3 separate regions of the Homo sapiens genome follow, and regions 1 and 2 are each linked to region 3. The links are contacts of gene promoters, found by promoter capture Hi-C in blood cells and fetal thymus (Javierre and others, 2016). All regions are on one chromosome and are shown on one strand. The core of a region is centred on a gene start or on the middle of the fragment in contact, and the rest is flanking DNA. Distances in the headings are between cores, read along the strand shown.

Evidence for each region. Contacts are between HindIII fragments. The CHiCAGO score rates a contact against its expected background, and 5 or more counts as called.
Region 1: a fragment that was not itself captured here is called in contact with the fragment with the promoter of GPR180 in region 3 in 5 of 17 cell types (naive CD4 T cells, total CD4 T cells, activated CD4 T cells and 2 more); the score reaches 6.7 in naive CD4 T cells.
Region 2: a contact is called between a fragment that was not itself captured here and the fragment with the promoter of GPR180 in region 3, in 6 of 17 cell types (naive CD4 T cells, activated CD4 T cells, naive CD8 T cells and 3 more). The highest score is 8.1, in naive CD4 T cells.

Annotation. Positions count from the first base shown.
Region 1 is chr13:94,415,581-94,418,280 of GRCh38, reverse strand. No RefSeq gene overlaps it. Among named protein-coding and RNA genes, the nearest start is that of DCT, 63 kb to the left of the region's middle. The HindIII fragment of the contact is 2,659 bases long and covers 55-2,700 here.
Region 2 is chr13:94,452,058-94,454,757 of GRCh38, reverse strand. All of the region lies in intron 6 of DCT (dopachrome tautomerase), which reads left to right. Among named protein-coding and RNA genes, the nearest start is that of DCT, 26 kb to the left of the region's middle. The HindIII fragment of the contact is 5,711 bases long and covers 1-2,700 here.
Region 3 is chr13:94,600,418-94,603,117 of GRCh38, reverse strand. GPR180 (G protein-coupled receptor 180) reads right to left here and starts at 1,261. Exons shown (of 9, transcript NM_180989.6): 1 at 1,046-1,261. The coding sequence starts at 1,190. RefSeq lists a silencer at 851-1,450 and an enhancer at 1,229-1,523. The HindIII fragment of the contact is 8,659 bases long and covers 1-2,700 here.

The DNA of each region.
Region 1 (2,700 bases), core at 135-2,634, 180 kb after region 3:
TTAATTAACTTTCAACTTGCCACCACAAACACTGTAACATGCCTGAACGAAGCTTATCTAACACATGCATTTTCTCTGTAAGACACCTCAAGAACTCCTCAGCTTTAGGAACACTACACAGCACTTCAGCACCACATTTGGTGGGGGACATTGTAAACAGCAAAATCAACAGAAAGCACAAAACTGAGAAAAAGATGGCACTAAATAGACTGTGAAAAGAACACTAGTTTTAGTATGAGAGTTGAAATGAGAAGGCAGAGCATCACCTTGTTGAACCTCAGCTAGAATGTGGGCATCAGATGAGTTAAATTTGTCACTGCTCTGTGCATATGCATGTCTGCAAATCACTATGAAAATGAATTTTAATGAGTAGGTGAACTAGCAAGTATGAAATCTGCAAGTAATGAATTACAAAAACACCAGTACTATATTTAATTCCTATACTTAATGAGGTCTTTCAAACCACCAGATTTTGGCCTCTTTGTGGAGGAAAATGAAATGATAAATAACATGAAGTGAGTTGGTAGTATGGCATACTTATTTCATATAATTCTTATAAGAATAGGTAAGGGGCTAAAAACTTTTCCTCTATCATCTTAGGTTTAGTGCCAGGCCTATGAATTAAACTGATAAAATACAGGTTAAAAGAAGAAAAAAAACCAGAGCCTATTTACACATGGTATATGTAGGACATGAGGGAGAACTCACTGATGAGTAACTCAGAGGGCTGGTTAGAATTGATAGCTTATATACCATCCTAACAGAGGGTGATAAATTCTGGAGACCTAGATAAAGGAAAGGGGGATTGGGGCTCCTAGGGGAGGTAAGTTGTGGGAAGGTGACTAAAAATATATAGTAGATAAGAGTTGTTTGGTAAGATTGTTATGCAAATAACAGCTCTCTCCTCTTTCTAGTAAGGAAGATGTGAACACCTTTACAAATAAAAATTTGTGTCAACTTTACAATGGGAAATTTATGCCCTACTTTTAGGCAAAAATGGGGAGGAGGGAGAATTCCTCTTATGTCTGGTATTTCTCAATTGTCTTCAGCTCAAAATAATTCTTATGTGAAAGTGGCATATTTTGGGGTGGCATATTCTGACCATCTTCAGATAAAATAGACAATTATTATGGCAGAACAAATGAGCATTTTTTTGTTGTTTTTGCTGTTATAACAGTTCTTAACAGATCATTCAATACAATTATGCAAACTGAGACATGGATAAAATTTTCACAGATGTGAGAAGTGTATCAACGGTGTAAAAGACTATTCCAGAATTAATTCTTGCTTTTCGTCTTGGGTTTTAATAAACGCAGCAGGAAAAATCTCCTGGGTCAATGGTCTGAATAGATAGAATGTTTACCTGAGATGCTTATCTGGTAAGCTCTCAGGATTTGCTAGTAAGTAGTTTGTAGGGACTCTAAGTCCTAGTTTGAAAATGGGGATTAGCAAGTAGGTTAAGGGTTTAGATTCTCACATTCACGGTGATTTTAAGAAAGGGGTTACAAACTGGTTTTGGGGAAGGAGATTTTTGCTCTCAGACCTGTCTTTACCAGCTGTGTGCGGAATGAATGCCTTGGAATTGCACAGGAATCCCTTTAGGTGGCGCTAGCTCATGCTGCTTAGTTGCAGCCAGCACCTTCCTTGTTGCCTCATACTTTGCAGTTGCTGCAATTGCATTACCTGCTTGGTCAAGGAGGCAGTCCTGCAGGCCACACTCAGAAGCTACTAGGCTAAGTAATAACTGCACAGAAGCAAGAGCCCTTTGCCCTAGGACTGGCGCCTTCATCACTCTTTCCTCCCCTCTTGCCAAAGGTAGAAATTTGCTTTGCTGGGTGTTTTTTTTTGTTTTGTTTTTTGTTTTTTCCTACATCACTCACAGCCTTCACTCTTTCTTGAGTTTGAGTTTTTTTTTTTCACATCATTTGGATCTCCCTCATTCAAACTGAGGAAAGACTTCTTACTAATAGCAATAAGGCACATTCTTGGGGAAGTCAGATGCCTGAGGATTTAGGGGTACTTAACTCTTTTTCCTTTTTCATGCTTTACAACTGTGATTAAGTCAGTGCAGACCACCCGTCACCATTTCTTACTGCTTAATTAAGAAACATCTCAGAATTTTCTCCCTGTTAGTTTCAGGCAGATTAGAAGGGAAAAATATTTTAACAGATGCTAAAGAGTCTTTCCAATGATTTGAAGATTAGGAGAGTGCCTTTTATAGAGCTCCCAAAGTGTTCCCTGGCTGCTTCTGCCAGAATTGAAAAAAATTTAGTGGCTGAGTACTTAATGAAAAGCCAAGATGCTCTGACAAAGAACTCCTGGGCAGCTATTACTGTAGCTCCAAAGAGTTATTGCAAATTAAATTTTATTCTTGTCCTTTATGATCTATATCAGGCAGTAGGTGTAACAGCATGACTGAAATATTCTTGTCTTACACTTTTGTTAATGAAAGCACCCATTCATTAATATATGTGTACCAGCAGGAAATATGAAATGGTGTGCTCCAGTTGAAAAGCCAGATATTGTATTGTCAACTTCGTAGGCAAAAGGCAGGGTAAATACAATTAGAGTTCGGGGACAGGGTAATTACTGTCTCCATCTGGTAACGCATTCTTTATCTGAGCTCAACCGTCTTACGGGTTTTAAGTACTTATGGGGCATCTTGCTAGGCAACCTAATAAAGGATTACTTTTTAAATGT
Region 2 (2,700 bases), core at 19-2,518, 150 kb after region 3:
AAAGTATTTCAGTTAACAGAGTTATAGCTTCTGGAATTTCAAATTCATGAGGCAATTCATGCAAATATATTGCACATGACATTTATTAAAATTTTTTTTGTGAAATCTCTCCAAGCAATAGAGCTACAAAATTGTATGTGATCACAATAATGAGCAAAAGAAGGCAGAACATTAAAGTGCAGGAAAAACTCTGAAGCAATCTCTAGTAATTCCTAAGGTAATTGAGGCAAATGCACACATTTATCATGGAAAATAAGATTAGGCCAGAGAAATGCTAAGTGCTGTCTTCAATATTAAATTTAGATATAATCCAGAAAAGAGAAAAAAAAGGAAACCAACAGACTGTAAAGTTATTTAAATGCCAAGAAAGAAACTGTGTTACATAGTGGTAATTTCCTTCCCAATTCCTAAAGATACTATTCTTAAGAGTATACTTGGATGTTATCCTTTTAGAAAGTACATTTGGTGAGTTCTACGTTCCTTCAATTCATCAGTGGCTGGGGGGTCCATAGGTTCCATAATTAATACTAAACAGCTCGTGCCTGTTTTCTACCTTGTACGTTGACATTCTAAATGGAATACAACATACAGTAGTCTTATTACTAATCAGTGTATAAAATAAGTTCATTAATTTAGAAAATGTGCAGCAGGAGAAAATGAATTTCTAAAACCACACATAGCTGATGGACTACCATAAATTAACCCTGTAAGAAAGAGCCCTTCTGAGTCTGCTGTTCTAGGCTACAACAAAGTTAGTGAAATCAAAAGCTCACAATTACAGGTATAAATAATTCTGAGTTAGAGTGAGTTTAGTTGAAATTTAAAAAAAGAAGGATAGGTGTATCAGTCTGTTTTCATGCTGCTGATAAAGATGTATCTGAGACTGAGTAATTTATAGAGAAAAAGAGGTTTAATGGACTTACAGTTCTATGTGGCTGGGGAGACCTCACGATCATGGTGGAAGGTGAAAAGCACATCTTACATGGTGGCAGCCAAGAGAGAACTTGTGCAGGAAAACTCTCATTTATAAAACCATCAGATCTCATGAGACTTATTCACTATCATAAGAACAGCATGGGAAAGACCCACCCCCATGATTCAATTACATCCCTTCCACAACATGTGGGAACTGTGGGAGCTACAATTCAAGATGAGATTTGGGTGGGAACACAGCTAAACCATATCAATAGGGCATTGCTTTTTTCTTCCCAAGAGTGAAACATTTAAAGATAGATCCATTTTGCTTTACTTTAAATAAGAAAAATCATAATTAGACTAATATTGTAAAAAAATAAAATAACATTGTTGTATGTGAAATTTTTATTTTTATTGGTTTATGATTTTTATATTATTTATAATTACAGAAATGTTGGTGAAAATAGTTTTTAAATGCCTGTAATTCCATCTCAATTTTTTTGTTTATTTCTTTTCATATTCTCATATGTTTTATACAGTTGCAATTATAGTCATCCCTCAATATCTTGAGGGAATTAGTTCCAGGACCCCCCACCATGGGTACCAAAATCTGTGACTACTCAAGTCCCTTATATAAAATGGCATTATATTTGCATATAAGGTACGCACATCCTTCTGTATACTCTAAATCATGTCTAGATTACTTATAATTGGATTCAGAGGACCATCTCTATAAGGCACCTATTATGTATAATATCCCATTATCACTTAATTTATTTAATTTTTAGGTTGTTGCATAGTTTTCTAAATTTTTTCATCTTAAAATCTTAGTGCACATAAAAGATTCAAAATATAAAATGTATAAAATGAAGTCCGTATTATCACTACCATCTTCCAGCAAACAATACAATTTTTTTCTAATTTTCCAGATATATTTTATAAATACACAAACAAATATGTTTATATATTTATCTACATGGTAGCATATTATAGACCCCTCTGTCCCTTTGCCTTTCCCCCACTTTTTTTTTAACTTATTCCAAATCATTTCAGTTCTGAAGGGCATTCTTATTCTTTTTTTATAGCTGTATAGTATTCTTTTGCATGGATTTATCCTGAAATGTATTATTTTAATTTTAAATTTAAGATTTTAAACTATTTTCTGTTGATGGACATTTAGGTGATTTCTAATCGTTTGCTTTACAATGCTACAACAAACATCCTTGAACATGTAAGGTAAGTAAAGAGAATAGAATCCCTGGCTTAAAGGGTAAAAAAATGCATTTGAAATTTGATAAATGTTACAGAATTGCCTCTAGAAGTTTGGACAATATTCCCTCCTAATACCTGTGTGTCACCTATGTGTCAGAGCCACAGTTCCCCCATCATTCCCTCTCATTATGCTCTTTGTCCCTGTGTCATCACACTTTTTCATCTTTGTCAACGTGATAGGTGAAAAGGCATTTTAGCAAATTTTAATTTGCATTTCTCTTCTTATAAGTGAAGTCTAGGCCAGATGCAGTGGCTCACGCCTGTAATCCCAGCACTTTGGGAGGCTGAGGTGGGTGGGTTACCTGAGGTCAGGAGTTCAAGACCAGCCTGGCCAACATGGTGAAACCTTGTCTCTACTAAAAATACAAAAATTAGCCGGGTGTGGTGTTAGGCACCTGTAGTCTCAGCTGCTTGGGAGGCTGAGGCAGGAGAATCACTTGAACCCGGGAGGTGGAGGTTGCAGTGAGCCAAGATCGTGCCATCGCACTCCAGCCTGGGTGACAAGAGCGAAAC
Region 3 (2,700 bases), core at 12-2,511:
CTTAGCTATCTTAAAAACTTCAAAAAAAAAAAAAATCAGGATCCCTTCCCTTTATTCTGTCAATTCTGTAATTTCCCAATACTTTAAATTCCTTTTCTCACCAAAGTAGTTCCGTTTCTATTATCTTCTCCTAACAATATTTTCTAGGCCAATATTCTGATGTTCATCGTTGCATCTTTTAATGCTAAAGACTGTACAAATCAAAGTTCCTAATGTCATCAAGGCAAATAATTATTTGAAATACAGCACTAGTCAAATTAAGAGTACCAAGAAAAACACTTAAATTGTGAGAGTGCAAATGAGACCAAAATTAGAATGAATTGCAAATGCATTTATTGAAGGAATAATTACTGATTTTTGAGGAAGACCAAAAGGTCTGAAATCAAACGCAACTCTGATTTCAGAAGAGCCACACAGAACACAAATTAGGGAGCTTCCAAGATGCTACTTAAATGCATTTTCATCAGCTTAATTCTAGGCCTTACTGCCCATAGTAAATCTACTGCCCTAGTAGCCAAGTAACCAAACTGCTCAATATAACAACTACATTATCAAGTGTTTTACTTGGTTTCCAAAACCACTCTGTTGCAAGTAGGTCTCAGGAAATTGGTCTTTAAAAAAAAAAAAAAAAAAAAGGAAATTTAAGTTTCTAGGGTTAAATTCTCCCGTCACAGTGTGGCCGAGACAGGAAGGAGCAAATATGCTTCTTTGCGGGAAGGATCTGGAAAGATGCGGCCGACCAGTCTTTTGCACATTGGCTTCCAAGGGGAGGGTTGGGGAAATGGAAACCAGCTTTCAGGTGCGGAACACGATCACTAGTGGCGAGAGGCCGCTGCCTGGGGCTGGAAAGCCGCACCAGCGGGGTTGGCAAGGAACGCATCCCACCATTCGCGGCAGCTGCTGCAACGCTGGAGGTCCAGGTGAGGCTGGGGAAGTCGCCGGCCTCGCCCAACGTGGCAGGGAGGGGCCGGGAGGAGCGGCCGGCGGACTCAGCCGGCGGGATGGGCCAGCGCGCCTTCATCCCCCTCCCCGCCCCCAGACCTACCATGGAACTCGAAGTGGCCGATGCGCTGGCCCTGGGCGTCCTGGGCCGCGGTGCTGCTGAAGCTGCCCCGCAGGGTCTTACCCTGGCTGCCCTGCGGCCACCAGCAGCACGTGAGGGCCACAGCCAGCAGCCGCAGCCCCCCCATGCCCGTCTCCAGGTCTGCACCGACGCCTCGGCTCCCAGCCGCCGGCGGCTGCCCGCCCCACGTCGGCAGCTGGGGGAGGCGGGGTGGGCGCCGGAGACCTGCTGCTCTGGAGCCTGAGAGCCAATGAGGCGGGCTCCTCTGCCATAAGCCGAAGACATTCACCAGTCAGAGGCCGAAATGGGCGGGACGCGCAGATCCTAGCGTCCCATCAGTCCCCGGCTTTTGACTAGTTCCCGCCTTTTTCTTTAATGAGGAATCAGGAGGATGTTGCTTCAGGTTACGGAAAACTCATCTCCCTCCTCATTGCCTAGCACGTCTTGCTACTGAGCATGCGCGGGCGCGCTGGCACGAGTCCGCGGGGCCTTCGAAGGGCTTGTGGGATTCGGAAAAAACTTAAGAAATGCAGGACAGGACTGTTTCTGGCCGAGAGAGTTAAACTCCCGCAAAGAAAAAACTGTGTTCTTATGCAGATTTTCTTCCTTGGCGCCTGTATAACCTACAGGACGTGTCCGATTTAATGTCTCAAAGACACTTAGCTCCGCATGACCACAATTTAACGCATGCCTTCTCTTGGCATCTCCAGCCGATTTTTCCCTCCTAGGTTCTCTGGCTTCTCGAATTACATTACCCCCACCCCCACCCCCGCCCGCAGACCAGACCGCTGGGAATTGTAGGCCCCCCCCCCCCCGCAATTCAATCAATTCAATAACAAGTGTGGATTAGCCCTTCTTCTGGTGAGGGTGGGAAGCAGCGGCCACAGTCCTACTCAGTTCATCACTTTGTTGGCCTATGGCAAAGACCGTCTCTACAGTCTTCATTCTAATTGGCTACAATCCATCTCTACCCTACAGCCACAGAAAGCTGTAGGAAACAATTTGCTGCACTTGCCTTGAAAGGTTCTCAATTGCCTTTAGCACACAACCCAAACTCTAGAATATGGCTCTTCAACTCTCAAATGTCTGTTTTTTCTCATCTCCATCCTTACCGCCGTTGGTTTCCTGAACACTCCCAAGTTCTCCCTTCTAGGCCTATATCACTCCCTGATCCCTCTGGCTAGAATACTTCTGCTTATTCCAACACTGGACCTCCTCACCTTCCTTTTCCTCCTTTACTCCTCCTTCCCAAGGCACTTTAAGAAGCCTTTCTCAAACCCCTAAGTCTGTAGTAGATGCCCCTGGAACCAGAATCCCTTACTTCCCTACCAGAGCACTCACGCACTGTACTGTAAGTATCCATTCATGTGTCTGAAATCTCCGCCTCTATTGTCAGCTCCAGCTGGTCAGTGACTACACTTTTTTTTTTTTTGAGACGGAGTTTCACTCTTGTTGCTCAGACTGGAGTGCAATGGCGCGATCTCGGCTCACCTCAACCTCTGCCTCCCGGATTCAAGCGATTATCCCACCTCAGCCTCCCGAGAAGCTGGGACTGCAGGCATGCGCCACCATGCCCGACTAATTTTTTATTTTTAGTAGAGATGGGATTTCTCCATGTTGATCAGACTGGTCCCAAA